2 separate regions of the Homo sapiens genome follow, and region 1 is linked to region 2. The links are contacts of gene promoters, found by promoter capture Hi-C in blood cells and fetal thymus (Javierre and others, 2016). All regions are on one chromosome and are shown on one strand. Each heading gives the region's core, a stretch centred on a gene start or on the middle of the fragment in contact. The rest is flanking DNA. Distances are from core to core; before and after follow the strand shown. Region 1 has its middle 36 kb from the start of OR10G7. Region 2 holds the start of OR8A1 (olfactory receptor family 8 subfamily A member 1).

Evidence for each region. Contacts are between HindIII fragments. The CHiCAGO score rates a contact against its expected background, and 5 or more counts as called.
Region 1: a contact is called between a fragment that was not itself captured here and the fragment with the promoter of OR8A1 in region 2, in 1 of 17 cell types (total B cells). The highest score is 5.3, in total B cells.

What each region holds. Positions count from the first base shown.
Region 1 is chr11:124,074,752-124,080,694 of GRCh38, forward strand. No RefSeq gene overlaps it. Among named protein-coding and RNA genes, the nearest start is that of OR10G7, 36 kb to the left of the region's middle. The HindIII fragment of the contact is 5,423 bases long and covers 122-5,544 here.
Region 2 is chr11:124,568,102-124,574,343 of GRCh38, forward strand. It overlaps OR8A1 (olfactory receptor family 8 subfamily A member 1), which reads left to right and starts at 1,896. Exons shown (of 1, transcript NM_001005194.2): 1 at 1,896-3,273. The coding sequence starts at 2,019. The coding sequence ends at 2,948. The HindIII fragment of the contact is 5,869 bases long and covers 511-6,242 here.

The sequences.
Region 1 (5,943 bases), core at 1,583-4,082, 490 kb before region 2:
CAGTGGGGTGGGCAGCTCCAAGTGCCGGCATGGGTGCTGGTTCTTTGCAAGGCTGTGGCCAGACCAGGTGCACTGCAAGCAGCTTCCACAGCTGGCACTGGGGACCATGGTGGTGCCTGGAAGCTTGGAGATTGCAGGGCCCCAAAGAGGGAGTCACAGCCCTGTGGGGGAGCTCCCAGGTCTGGGATCCCCAAAGGGCCACAGCTCTTCTTTCCTTCTCTTCACCTGCAATGTAGGGAGCAAGCAAGGGGCATGTCTCAGCCCTGTTTGTGTTACAGCTCTTTTAGCTTTGCCATTCGTTGGGTCACGAGTTCTTGTCCTGTGACTAGGAAAAGTGAGTTATGCAGACAAGTGGAGGGTGAGTAAGAGGAAGAAGAGCTTTATTGAGCTATAGAACAGCTCAGAGGGGACCTGCAGTGGGGAGCTTCTTTCTGCAGCCGGAGTGTCCTGACAAGTGTTCAGCTCCTAGGGAGCGGGTAGTTCCTCTCTGCTAGAGGTCATCTCAACAAGTGTTGAGGGTAGCTCCTCTCTGCTGCGGGTCCTCCCATTGTCTGCAGCTCTAAGCAGAGAAGAGGCCCTAGAGTGGTGGCTCCTCTCTGCAGCAGGTCATCCCATTGCCTCTGCAGCTCTCAGCAGAGAGTGTAACTCCTCTCTGCTGCTGATCATCCTGTCACCTCTCCATCCTCTGATCTACCCTGCTGTAGCTGATCCCAGGGCTTTTATGGACCTCAGAGGAGAGGAAGTGTGTGCCAGTTGGTCCATGGGTGGCCATGGGCAGGTCTGGAAAAGGCACCACAAGACCCCACTCCACCAGCAGCCTGGCCCCTAGCCTTCGGACCCTCCCTGGGGGACCTGACCCCTTCCACCCAGGAGTCTGTCTGCCTCCTGACACTGTCCATGCCGCCCAGGCTGCTAGCCCCCAGGGGCACCTGCAGGCCAGCACCTAGCTGCCCTCAGCCCCCCACCACTCAGCTTCCCCCGTACCCAGCCTTTGTGCTCCTGGATGCTCAAAGTCTGGAGGGGGCCGAGGCAGCAGGGGGCTGGTGTATCAGTGCTGCCCACAGCGTGCACACACCCGGCTACACCCAGCCGGCCTGTGACAGCTCCAGGGTTCATTCAGCCCCAACCCTGCTCTGAGATTGGAGTGGGTGCCAGGAGTGGCGAGCGGCTAGGCAGTGGGAGCAGACAACCCTGAGCCTTCGCGGGAGGGCCTTCCGGGTCCTCGAGGGTACAGAGAGCAGAAATGCCAGAGTCCCGTGCCTGGGAGGGTGGGGCTCCCCTGGCCTCCTGGAGCTTGCAGACAGCCCTGGCCACGCCTCCTCACAGCCTGGGGTAGGGGGTCCGGATGCTCTGCCTGCCCCTCAGTGCCGGATTGTGCTGGAGGGTAGCTTGGCCCAGCCCCATTGCGGTGGCCCTCAGGGTGGTGGGCTTTGGGGGCCTGGGGAGAGGGTGCTCCTTCTTGTCCTTGTCCCTGGCTCCCAGCGGCTCCGTGGAGGATGGCACTGCCTCAGGCCCAGCTCCACCTCCTCCCTGCACCCTCCCAGCAGTTGCTGCAGATGAGAGCGGCGATGGGACCAGGGTCCAGAGCAATGGAGGCTCCGTGCCTGGGAGCGGGTTCTGCCGGCTGCGGAAGGATAGGGGTGGCACAGTCAGCCGCCTTGGGGACACAGGACATAGGGGACCCACCACCGCCACTGCCGCTCCCGCAGCAGCTCGTGCCGCCACCACCCACGCCTCCTTGCTGCAGCCAGCGTGACGACAGCGGCTGCTCCGGACCACCCGCAAGCGGCCATCACGGCAAGGGACTAACCGTCGTGTAACTACTGTCTGCCACAAAAATCTCTATTATTATCTTTAAAGGGAAACTTCTTCTTAAACTAAAAATGCTTTTGTTCCTAATATATTGGGACATCGGGACATTTCCTGGGTCTGTTGTTTCCTGGGTCTGTTTGGTAAACCTTGTTAACCTGTTCCCTTCACTATAAACATCCTGTGACTTAGAATGCCTAGCCTCTTGGGAAGGCATCCCAGCAGCTTCCTCATTTTACCCAGCCCCTGTTCAAGAGGGAGTCTCTCTGGTTCCAACACCTCTGACAGTTTTGAAGAGAAAAAAATAATCCTCTTGAATAAATCTTCTGATAATTCTCACCTAATGTGATTGGAATCTACTGGGCCTACTAGATGGAGCTTGTTGAAAGAGAGGGGAGCTCTATGAGCTCCCAAAATACGTCAAAAAATAAAAATTAGAGAACAAAAAGAAAGATTTCCAAGGGGTGATATAAAATAGGAATTGGAGGATGGAGAAACAATAGCACACCTACCTCTAGAATTTCATAAAACCGGGATATGATACCTAGAGAAACTGTTGCAAATTATCAATTTTTAATTTTCTTTATTTAAAAGAAAATCTTTGTATGTTACTTCTGGGTGATTCTCAGAACTAAATCTGGTTTAGTAATTTATTTTCGTTAGTCTGATATTCAGTTATCATGTTAAAATTTTTGCTATAATGTATTAATTTTATAAGATTTCTATGGGCATCTTGTCATAACTTTTGCTTGCCTTGTTTCAGCATTTTCTATTTTTGTTTCAAAATAATATTTTTCCTTTTATGGTCTCCTTAACACTTATATTTTAAATTCTTTGAGATGTGGTAGTCCATCTTCTTTCTTTTTCTCTCTTTCTTTCTCTCCTTCTTTCTTTCCTTCTTTCTTTTTCTCTTTCTCTTTTTCTTTTCTTTCTTTTCCTTTCTCTCTCTCTCTCCTTCTTTCCTTCTTTCCTTCTTTTTTTGAGACAGGATCTCACTCTGTTGCCCAGGCTGCACAGTGGCACAGCTCACTGCAGCTTCAACCTCCCTGGGATCGGGTCATTCTCTCACCTCAGTCTCCCCAGTGGCTGGGACTACAGGCATCTCCACCACACAGCTAATTTTTGTATTTTTTGTAGATGGGGGTTTTGCCATGTTGCACAGTCTGGTCTCAAACTTCTGGCTCAGCCAATCCACCTGCCTTGGCCTCCCAGAGTATTTCTATCTCTTAAGCTGTAAATTGTTCTGATTTTAGAGTTTGTTGTGTGTGTTTTAAGAGTGTTAGTTTCCATACATCTTTTGATCATAACTTCTGCACAGTTCTCATTTGCGAGTCCCTCCTGGATTATTCTCTAGCACAACCCCTGACCCTGGTGAGGTGTGGCACCGGCCTCACAGCCTGCTTGGCTAGTGGATTTCTGGCTCCATCCTTGCTGGAGCAGCTTTGGTCTTCAGTCTCAGATGGGTGGTGTTGGTGCCCTGATTCAGGATCTTCTGGGTTTTTTTCATAGTTTGAGAGTGGCATAAACAACACTCAATGTGCCTATTTCCTACTGTCTCACTCAATAGCAATAATCCACATGGGGGACTTCTGTTGTGGGGAGAGGGTTCCCCACACACCAAGTGACCAATCAATTCTGCTGCAGACACTAGTTGGGTGTCCTCCAGTTCAATTCTGACACTGTCAGCCTAGAGGTAGCATCAGATCCCACAGGTTGAGGGCTCAGTCCCCAAGAAAGACTGCCCTCCCAAACCCCCCCACCCCCCGCCCCAGTTAGGCTCCAGTCACAAGTCAGGGCCTCTGGAAATGCTGGCGTAGGGTTGGGGTTCCTGCAACCCCCCTTTTTGGGCTCGATTATTTTGCTAGTGGCTCATAGAACTCAGGAAAACACTTTTTATACTTACCAGTTTATTTTAAAGGATTCTACAAGGGATACAGATGAAGAGATGTGGAGGGTGAGATATCAGGGAAGGGGTGAGGATCTTCCCTGCCCTTCCCAGGTACAGTACCTTCCAGGAACCTCCATGTGCTCAGCTATCCAGAAGCTCTCTGAACCCTGTTTTCTGGGGCCTTTTATAGAGCTTCATTGGTTAGGCAAGATCAAAGCATGGGCAACCATGTAGAAATATGATTGGAACACAAGGGTATGATCTAACACTAATAGACTGAGTGGGGAAACCTAGCAAGGCCTGCCTGTTCAGATTCCTTTTGGCCTCTCTGTGCAGCGTTCCATCCTCCTGGGTACAGGACCAGACCCTCTCTGGAATGACAGTTTTATGACCCCAGATCAGAAAGGCAGGGGAAGATCAGAGTCCCGCTTGGGCTGGTGAGAAGAGAGCAGGAAAAGGCCAGAGAGATTCTGTTTTCTGAGGCCTAACTGCCCCAACATTATAACAAAAGACCACAGCTGGAGCTATGGGAGTTATAAGCCAGGAACCATGAATGAAAACTTATATATTTTTTATATATAAGATATTACAGGCCGGGTGCAGTGGCTCACGCCTGTAATCCCAGCACTTTGGGAGGCCAAGGTGGGTGGATCACCTGAGGTCAGGAGTTCAAGAGCAGCCTGGCCAACATGGTGAAACCCCTACTCCACTAAAAATAAAAAAATTACCCAGGCGTGGTGGCGGGCATCTGTAGTCCCAGCTACTCGGGAGGCTTAGGCAGGAGAATCACTTGAACCCGGGAGGGGGAGGTTTCAGTGAGCAGAGATCGTTCCACTGCACTCCAGCCTGGGTGACAGAGCCAGATTCAGTCTCAAAAAAAAAAAAAATCACAATAGAGAATCATTTTTTTCTTGTTTTCAGTTGTAGTTAGTATTTATTCCATTTTCACTGTAATTTCTCTATGTTTAGAAAAAGAGATCAAAGTTTTAGTACACACTCTTTCTTCTAAAATCAAAAGCCCCATTTTTTTCATGATGATTTCCTAAGACTTCGATACTTTTATTTTTCTAACACTCTGCAATGACAAGTGGTAAACTCTTTGGAATTAAAAGGAGGTGGCATGTGTGACTCATTTGAACATAACTACACTGGGAATTATGTGTCTTTTTCATATTCTCTGCCAAAGAGAATAAAGCGTAGGTGAGAAAAAGTGAAAAGTGATAGTTGGGATAAAAGTAAACAGTAGACTGATTCTATAGGCCCTGTAAATAATTAAAATGGTTGCATAGCAAACAATGTCAGGAACGAGTAGACACAAGAGTATTAATGAGCTGGAGGCCAGCATGGGTCTTCAGGAACGGAGCACTGGAAAATATAACAGCTGTGCTCTGTCATGCAGCGGTGAGATCATGTGTTGTGTGTCTTAAGGAGATAAGAGGAAACTGGCCCGCATCTCAATTCAACATTCAGTATTTGACAAGATATCTCACTTTCCATCTTATTATCACCTATCATCACTGAAGACTTTTAATGCCCTTAATGCCACTTAAGATTAGGTACATTTTCATTTCTGACCATTTCTCTGGTTATTTCATTCCTATGTAGGTTTTGCTAGAATAATTCGGAGTTCTTTGGAGATTTGCTACTGTTGACCCAATAACTGTCATTAAGAGGATCTTATATTTTACCCTTCCCTAGGTAGATGCAATCTAGTTCCACTGAGAAACTCTACTGAGTCTTCTGATTGGGTCCTAGGAAGAGAAAGAGAGAATCGATGGCATGGGAAATCTAATCCTGAAGTTCTTTCCCCATGTAACTCTGCGTTCCTAAGGCCACAGTGTAACCTAAGCTTTAGCCTTCCCTCCCTGTTGTTGGGTCATCTTCTCCAGGGACATAATGGGAAAGGCTTTATCTAATGTCTTTTCTCATTTACCTCCCTGGAAGGTGTCCCTTCAGTACTGTGTGTCCTTGGTGCTGCTGAGCTCTGTCTGGCTCTCTGATCGTTTCAACACCTGGCACCCCTGGAGAGGCTACCGAGGAGAGAATGCGGGTGAGCTGCCACCAGTGGAGCTCTGAGGTTATCACAGCCTGATAAACGAACTCACAGGACACTCCCAATCCAATACGGCGCTGATGGGGTTTAAGACACTGATGCAGATGAGAAGCACAACTGCACAGCATATGTACTTCTAGTGAGAATTCATCAAATATCCCAGGCATGGCTTCCAGACCCCACCACTGTGTGG
Region 2 (6,242 bases), core at 646-3,145:
CATTTGTGAATGCTATGTTTAAAAAGCAGATTACAAATGTTTTTGTAAAAATACATATATATTTATATACATGTAAATACATATATGCATAGGAAAAGTCTAGAAGGATATTCACTACCACCGTTTGGTTCCAAGTGGTGGAAAATGGTTGTTTTAAATTTTTGCTTATTTGCATTTCTAATTCACTACAATGCCTATATATTGCCTTTATAATTTTTTTAAATGCATCCAAAATTAGCAATAGATCTTTCCTCTATCTTCAAAAATTATATAAATTAAATGTTATTAAATAATAATAAAGTGCTACACAAAGATACGCTAAAACAAAACAATTTAGTTTAGTGGAGACAAAACACACTGGTGGTCAGAAGTCCTGGGTTTTAGGCCCAGTTTTGCCTCTTACTAGCTGGGTTTCCTTGGGTGACTTATTTAACTTTTAGAGCTTCAATTTCCTAGACAACGAAACAAAATACAGCATTTTTCCTATGCTATGCATATACTAAGATATCAAGCTTAAACCTATTTTAATCATACATTGCTAAGAGCTGTGAGTGTGCAGATTTACAAGGCTGCACATGTGAGGCAAAAGAGGAAACTCATGATCAGGACAGAGCCGAGGTAAGTTTGAGTTCCAAGTCACCAATAATTAGTAAACCTTGGGCAAATCACTTAGTGTCTGGCACCTCAGTTTTCTCAATACAAACATGAAAATAAAAATCCTTCCCTAAACACATTTCTCCCCATTTCCGAAAACTTCAGAAGTTAATGAGATCGACCTTTGAAAGAAATGTGTAAGCTGTAAAGCATTATGCAAAAGTTAGTAATTACATAAGGAAGCAATTAAAATAGGGGTAATATGTTTTATAGCTTAAGAAATACATCCCACAGATAAGACTGTCTATACATATTGTATCCAGCAATGATTATTCATGCTTCCTGGAGATATGCCTGTAATTTGAATACTTTGTCATCAGGGATGTAATAGGACAAAGGTTTGATATTATGATCTGAAAATAATAATAATAATAATTAGCTATTTAGCACTTAGTATGGAACATTCAATGGGCCAGTGCTCATGTTGCACCACAGATCAATTAAATCAGAACATCTACGGGTAGAACCCAGGTATCAATCCTTTGTAAATGCCCCGTGTGATTATAATGTATAGCCAATGCTGAGAACCACTGCCTTAGGACCTCAGGTCAAGTAAGAAATTAAGAACAAATTCCAGACTCTTAATGACAATTCACATTTTTTATAGGCACTGAGTATTTGAAAAAAGATTTCTAAATATGCATTATCCTGTGTTATTTTTACAACCACCTTTGGAATCAATATTAATTTCTTCATCTTTCAGACATAGAAATTGATGTGTCAGCCAATGACACAGCTTGTAACTACCCTATCACCCTGACACTGCGTAAATTTCAGATAGGTATTTACATGTTCACATTCAGTGAATATTTAGGAATTATATACATGACAAAGGAAGTTTATTTCTAAAGCAAAATCCATCCCCAACTACAAAATATGAAATATACTACTTATCTACAATGTAGAGATTCTCAAACTTTACTATGCAACACCATCACCAGAAAGATTGTTAATACATAGATTGCTGGGCCCCATATCCAGAGTTTCTGATTAATTAGGTGTGAGCTGAGGCCTGAGAATTTGCATCTCTAAAAAACTCCAGGTAATGTCAGTGCTGCTGGTCCAGGGACTACCCTTTGAGAAACACTGCCCCAGGATGCTTTAGAAAAATGTGCATGGTAAAAGATCCAGACCTTGGCCTGCTTTCCTCCCATCTTCATGATCCCTGAAACACTCACGCTGGTCTTCCTGCAAAGAAGACCAGCAAATAGCAGGACGAGGGGAGGAGGGCGGGGAGGATGCATCAGCAGAGAGCCCAGGATGTTTCACTAGCACCAAAGGCTCAAGACTAGCCGTCCAAGATTAGCCTTTTAATGGGGTTCTTGTCTCCCATGCATCCCTGCAGGCCTCCCACCCAGAGGAGAATGGCTGCAGGAAATCACTCTACAGTGACAGAGTTCATTCTCAAGGGTTTAACGAAGAGAGCAGACCTCCAGCTCCCCCTCTTTCTCCTCTTCCTCGGGATCTACTTGGTCACCATCGTGGGGAACCTGGGCATGATCACTCTAATTTGTCTGAACTCTCAGCTGCACACCCCCATGTACTACTTTCTCAGCAATCTGTCACTCATGGATCTCTGCTACTCCTCCGTCATTACCCCTAAGATGCTGGTGAACTTTGTGTCAGAGAAAAACATCATCTCCTACGCAGGGTGCATGTCACAGCTCTACTTCTTCCTTGTTTTTGTCATTGCTGAGTGTTACATGCTGACAGTGATGGCCTACGACCGCTATGTTGCCATCTGCCACCCTTTGCTTTACAACATCATTATGTCTCATCACACCTGCCTGCTGCTGGTGGCTGTGGTCTACGCCATCGGACTCATTGGCTCCACAATAGAAACTGGCCTCATGTTAAAACTGCCCTATTGTGAGCACCTCATCAGTCACTACTTCTGTGACATCCTCCCTCTCATGAAGCTGTCCTGCTCTAGCACCTATGATGTTGAGATGACAGTCTTCTTTTCGGCTGGATTCAACATCATAGTCACGAGCTTAACAGTTCTTGTTTCTTACACCTTCATTCTCTCCAGCATCCTCGGCATCAGCACCACAGAGGGGAGATCCAAAGCCTTCAGCACCTGCAGCTCCCACCTTGCAGCCGTGGGAATGTTCTATGGATCAACTGCATTCATGTACTTAAAACCCTCCACAATCAGTTCCTTGACCCAGGAGAATGTGGCCTCTGTGTTCTACACCACGGTAATCCCCATGTTGAATCCCCTAATCTACAGCCTGAGGAACAAGGAAGTAAAGGCTGCCGTGCAGAAAACGCTGAGGGGTAAACTGTTTTGATGCAAATGTTATTGTTCCTTTTCAATTTAGTGGTAATTGTTATAAATACCAGAGTGACAGCTTCTGAATGCTGGCCAGCTGTGGATGGAAAATAATCACTTCTCCACATGGCTGGGTGAATGGGCATTTTTCCTTCTTTCCTCTTCCTTCCCTCTTCCTTTCCTCTTCCTTCCTCTTCCTTCCTTCCTCTTCTTTCCTCTTCCTTCCCTCCCTCTTTTTTCACTTCTCTTTGAAGCCAGCCAACTTCAGGTTCAGGTTTTCTTTCACTTGAGATCCATCCCTCTACCCCAAGCCCTTTAATAAATGTTTCCTATCTTAATTGTAATTTAACTTAAATGCTAAACTTTCAACATTGAGTTTTAGGGTCATTCATGGTCTTATTATCTTCTATATAGAAAATATTACTCAGCCCAATTTTTTTCTTTTTTTTTTTCTTTTTGGTGACAGAGTCTCACTCCAGCCCAGGCTGGAGTACAGTGGCACGATCTCGGCTCACTGCAACCTCCGCCTCCCAGGTTCAAGTGATTCTCCTGCCTTAGCCTCCCGAGTAGCTGGGATTATAGGCATCTGCCACCATGCCCAGCTAATTTTTGTATTTTTAGTAGAGACGGGGTTTCACCATGTTTGCCAGGCTGGTCTTGAACTCCTGACCTCAAGTGAGCCACCTGCCTTGGCCTCCCAAAGTGCTGGAATTACAGGTGTGAGGCACTGCGCCTGGCCAATTTTTTTTCTTTTTGTACTTGGGAACAAATGAGGCAAAGAGAGGCAAAGTATCTCTACTTACCCCTGCCCAAGAATTTCCTGATCTCTTTATGTAATTTTCTTAGTAACACTAATAATAATGATAACAGCAGCTAACATGTTTTTGGATGCTGACTCTGATCCATGCAATTCTTCTACGTGCTTTCTATTCTATTTCAATTATACTACACAACAAGTAGGTACTATTCTATTCTCATTTCACAGATATGGAACTTGGAGCAGGAGTAACAACACTGAGATTCAAACCCCAGTCCAAGTGGCTTCCAGAGCCCAGACTCTGGGCACTCACACATTACTTCCTTCACTTTAGTCTAGCCGTCCCTTTGAACAGCCTATTAAACCTCCCATAATTATGCTCATCCAATTTCAAATTGGATGAAAATAATTTCTTCTGAAAATAATTTCTCAAATCCCTTCCTTTTATCATCTGCCCAAACCTCTTTCTCTTTATGGGCAACAACTATAATAGGATGGGAAAAGATGCCTAACTAGCATATATAATAATAAACCCTAGCAAACCAGCAAGAAAAAGACATCAACTTTAGCAAGAAAAAAAATGAGCAAGGTATATAGAACAATTTACAAAAGAGAAAACCTGAAGTACCACAGAGCATGTGAAGAGATGCTCAAACCGATTACTAAACATAGAAGCGCAAATTAAAACAGTGATATATCTTTTTACGTTTATAAGATTAGCACAAATTTTAAAAGCTGGATGGTGCTAAGTGTTAGTAAGGAGGTAGGGATTTAGGAACCCCCATATACTACAGCTATTCTGGAAAACAGTAAGACATTACTTAGGAAAAATAAGTATAGGTATCCACAGGGCATAGCAAATCTGGTCCAAGGTATATATAGTCCCAAATCATTCTCTTTCAGGCCTATAAGATGGCATGTACAAAGGCATTCATTATACCATTATTTTTGGCGATGGGAACTTAGAGATAAAATAAGTGTCCACCATTGGGAAAGTAAGTAGATAAATTGTATCTACTTACTTACAATTTATAGACTCTTCAACAGTTAGAAGCAAAGGATTAGCTATACACAATATAGTTTAGAGGTATAGTGCTGTGTGAGAAAAGTAAGAAAGATAATGAGATATAAAACATATTATTTATGTATATTAAAATTGCATGTGCACACACCCCAAAAAAAGCACACTTAGAAAGAAAAAAGACCATAACGTAAAATACACATTAGGCAGGTCAGAATGGCTGCTGAGAGAGATAAGATGCACGAAAGAAGGGAGTAGAAAAAAGATGAAGCAGAAAACCAAGAAAGACCACATTCTGGACCATAAAACACACCTTAACTGATTTAAAGAAATAGAAATCATACAATGTCTGCTGTCTGCTCTCAGACCACAATGAAATTAAACGAGAAATCAATAACAGAAAGATAACTGAAAAATCATTAAATATTTTGAAATTAAACAACACATTTCTAAATAGCACATGAGTCAAAGAAGAAAATCTCAAGAGAAATTTTAAAATATTTTGAATGAAACGAAAATGAAAATGCAACTAATCAAAACTTGTGGGATGCAGCAAAAGCAGAGTTTAGAGGGAAGTTTACAGCATTGAATGTTTACAGCACTGAATGTTTACAGCATTGAATGTTTACAGCATTGAATGCCTTCGCAAAGAAAACGATCTAAAATCAATCACCTAGACTTCCAACTTAAGAAACTAGGTTGGAGAATGGCAAATTAAATCCAAAGTTAGCAGAAGAAAACAAAAAAAATTAGAGAAAAATCAATAATATTTAAAACAGAAAATCAACGGAGGAAAATCAATGAAACCAAAAGCTGATTCTTTGAAAAGATCAATAGAATTGATAAGCCTCTAGCCAGGATAACTGGTAAAAAAAAAAAAAAAAGGACACAAATTACTAGTGTCAGAAATGAAAGAAGGACATCAGTATAGGTCCTATGAACATTTAAAAAAAGAAGAATTACTATGAACAACTCTATGCCTACAGACTTAATAACCTAGATGAAATGGACCAAATCCTGGAAAGATGTAATCTGTCAAAACTCACATAAGAAGAAATAGACAAGCTGAATAGGCCTATATCTATTAAAGAAACTGACTTAATAATTAGCAGCCTTTCAAAACAGAAAACACCAGGTTCAAATGGGTTCACTGGTGAATTCTACCAAACATTTTAAAGAAAGATATTATACCAATTCTCTACAATCTCTTCCAGAAGATTGAAGCAGAGGGAATACTTCCTAACTCATTCTTTGAGGCCAGCATCACCCTAATACCAAAATCTGACAAAAAATTTATAAGAAAGGGAAGCTACAGACCAGCATCTATCATGAACAGAGATAATAAATTCCTCAACAAAATATTAGCAAATTGAATGCAACAATGTATTCAACAACTATACACCATAACCAAGTGCAATTTATCCCAAGTGTGTGAGGCTGGTTCAACATTTGAAAATCAATTAAGGTAATCCAAATCCACATCAACAGGCTAAAGAAGAAAAATCACATGTTGATATCAATAGATATAGAAAAAA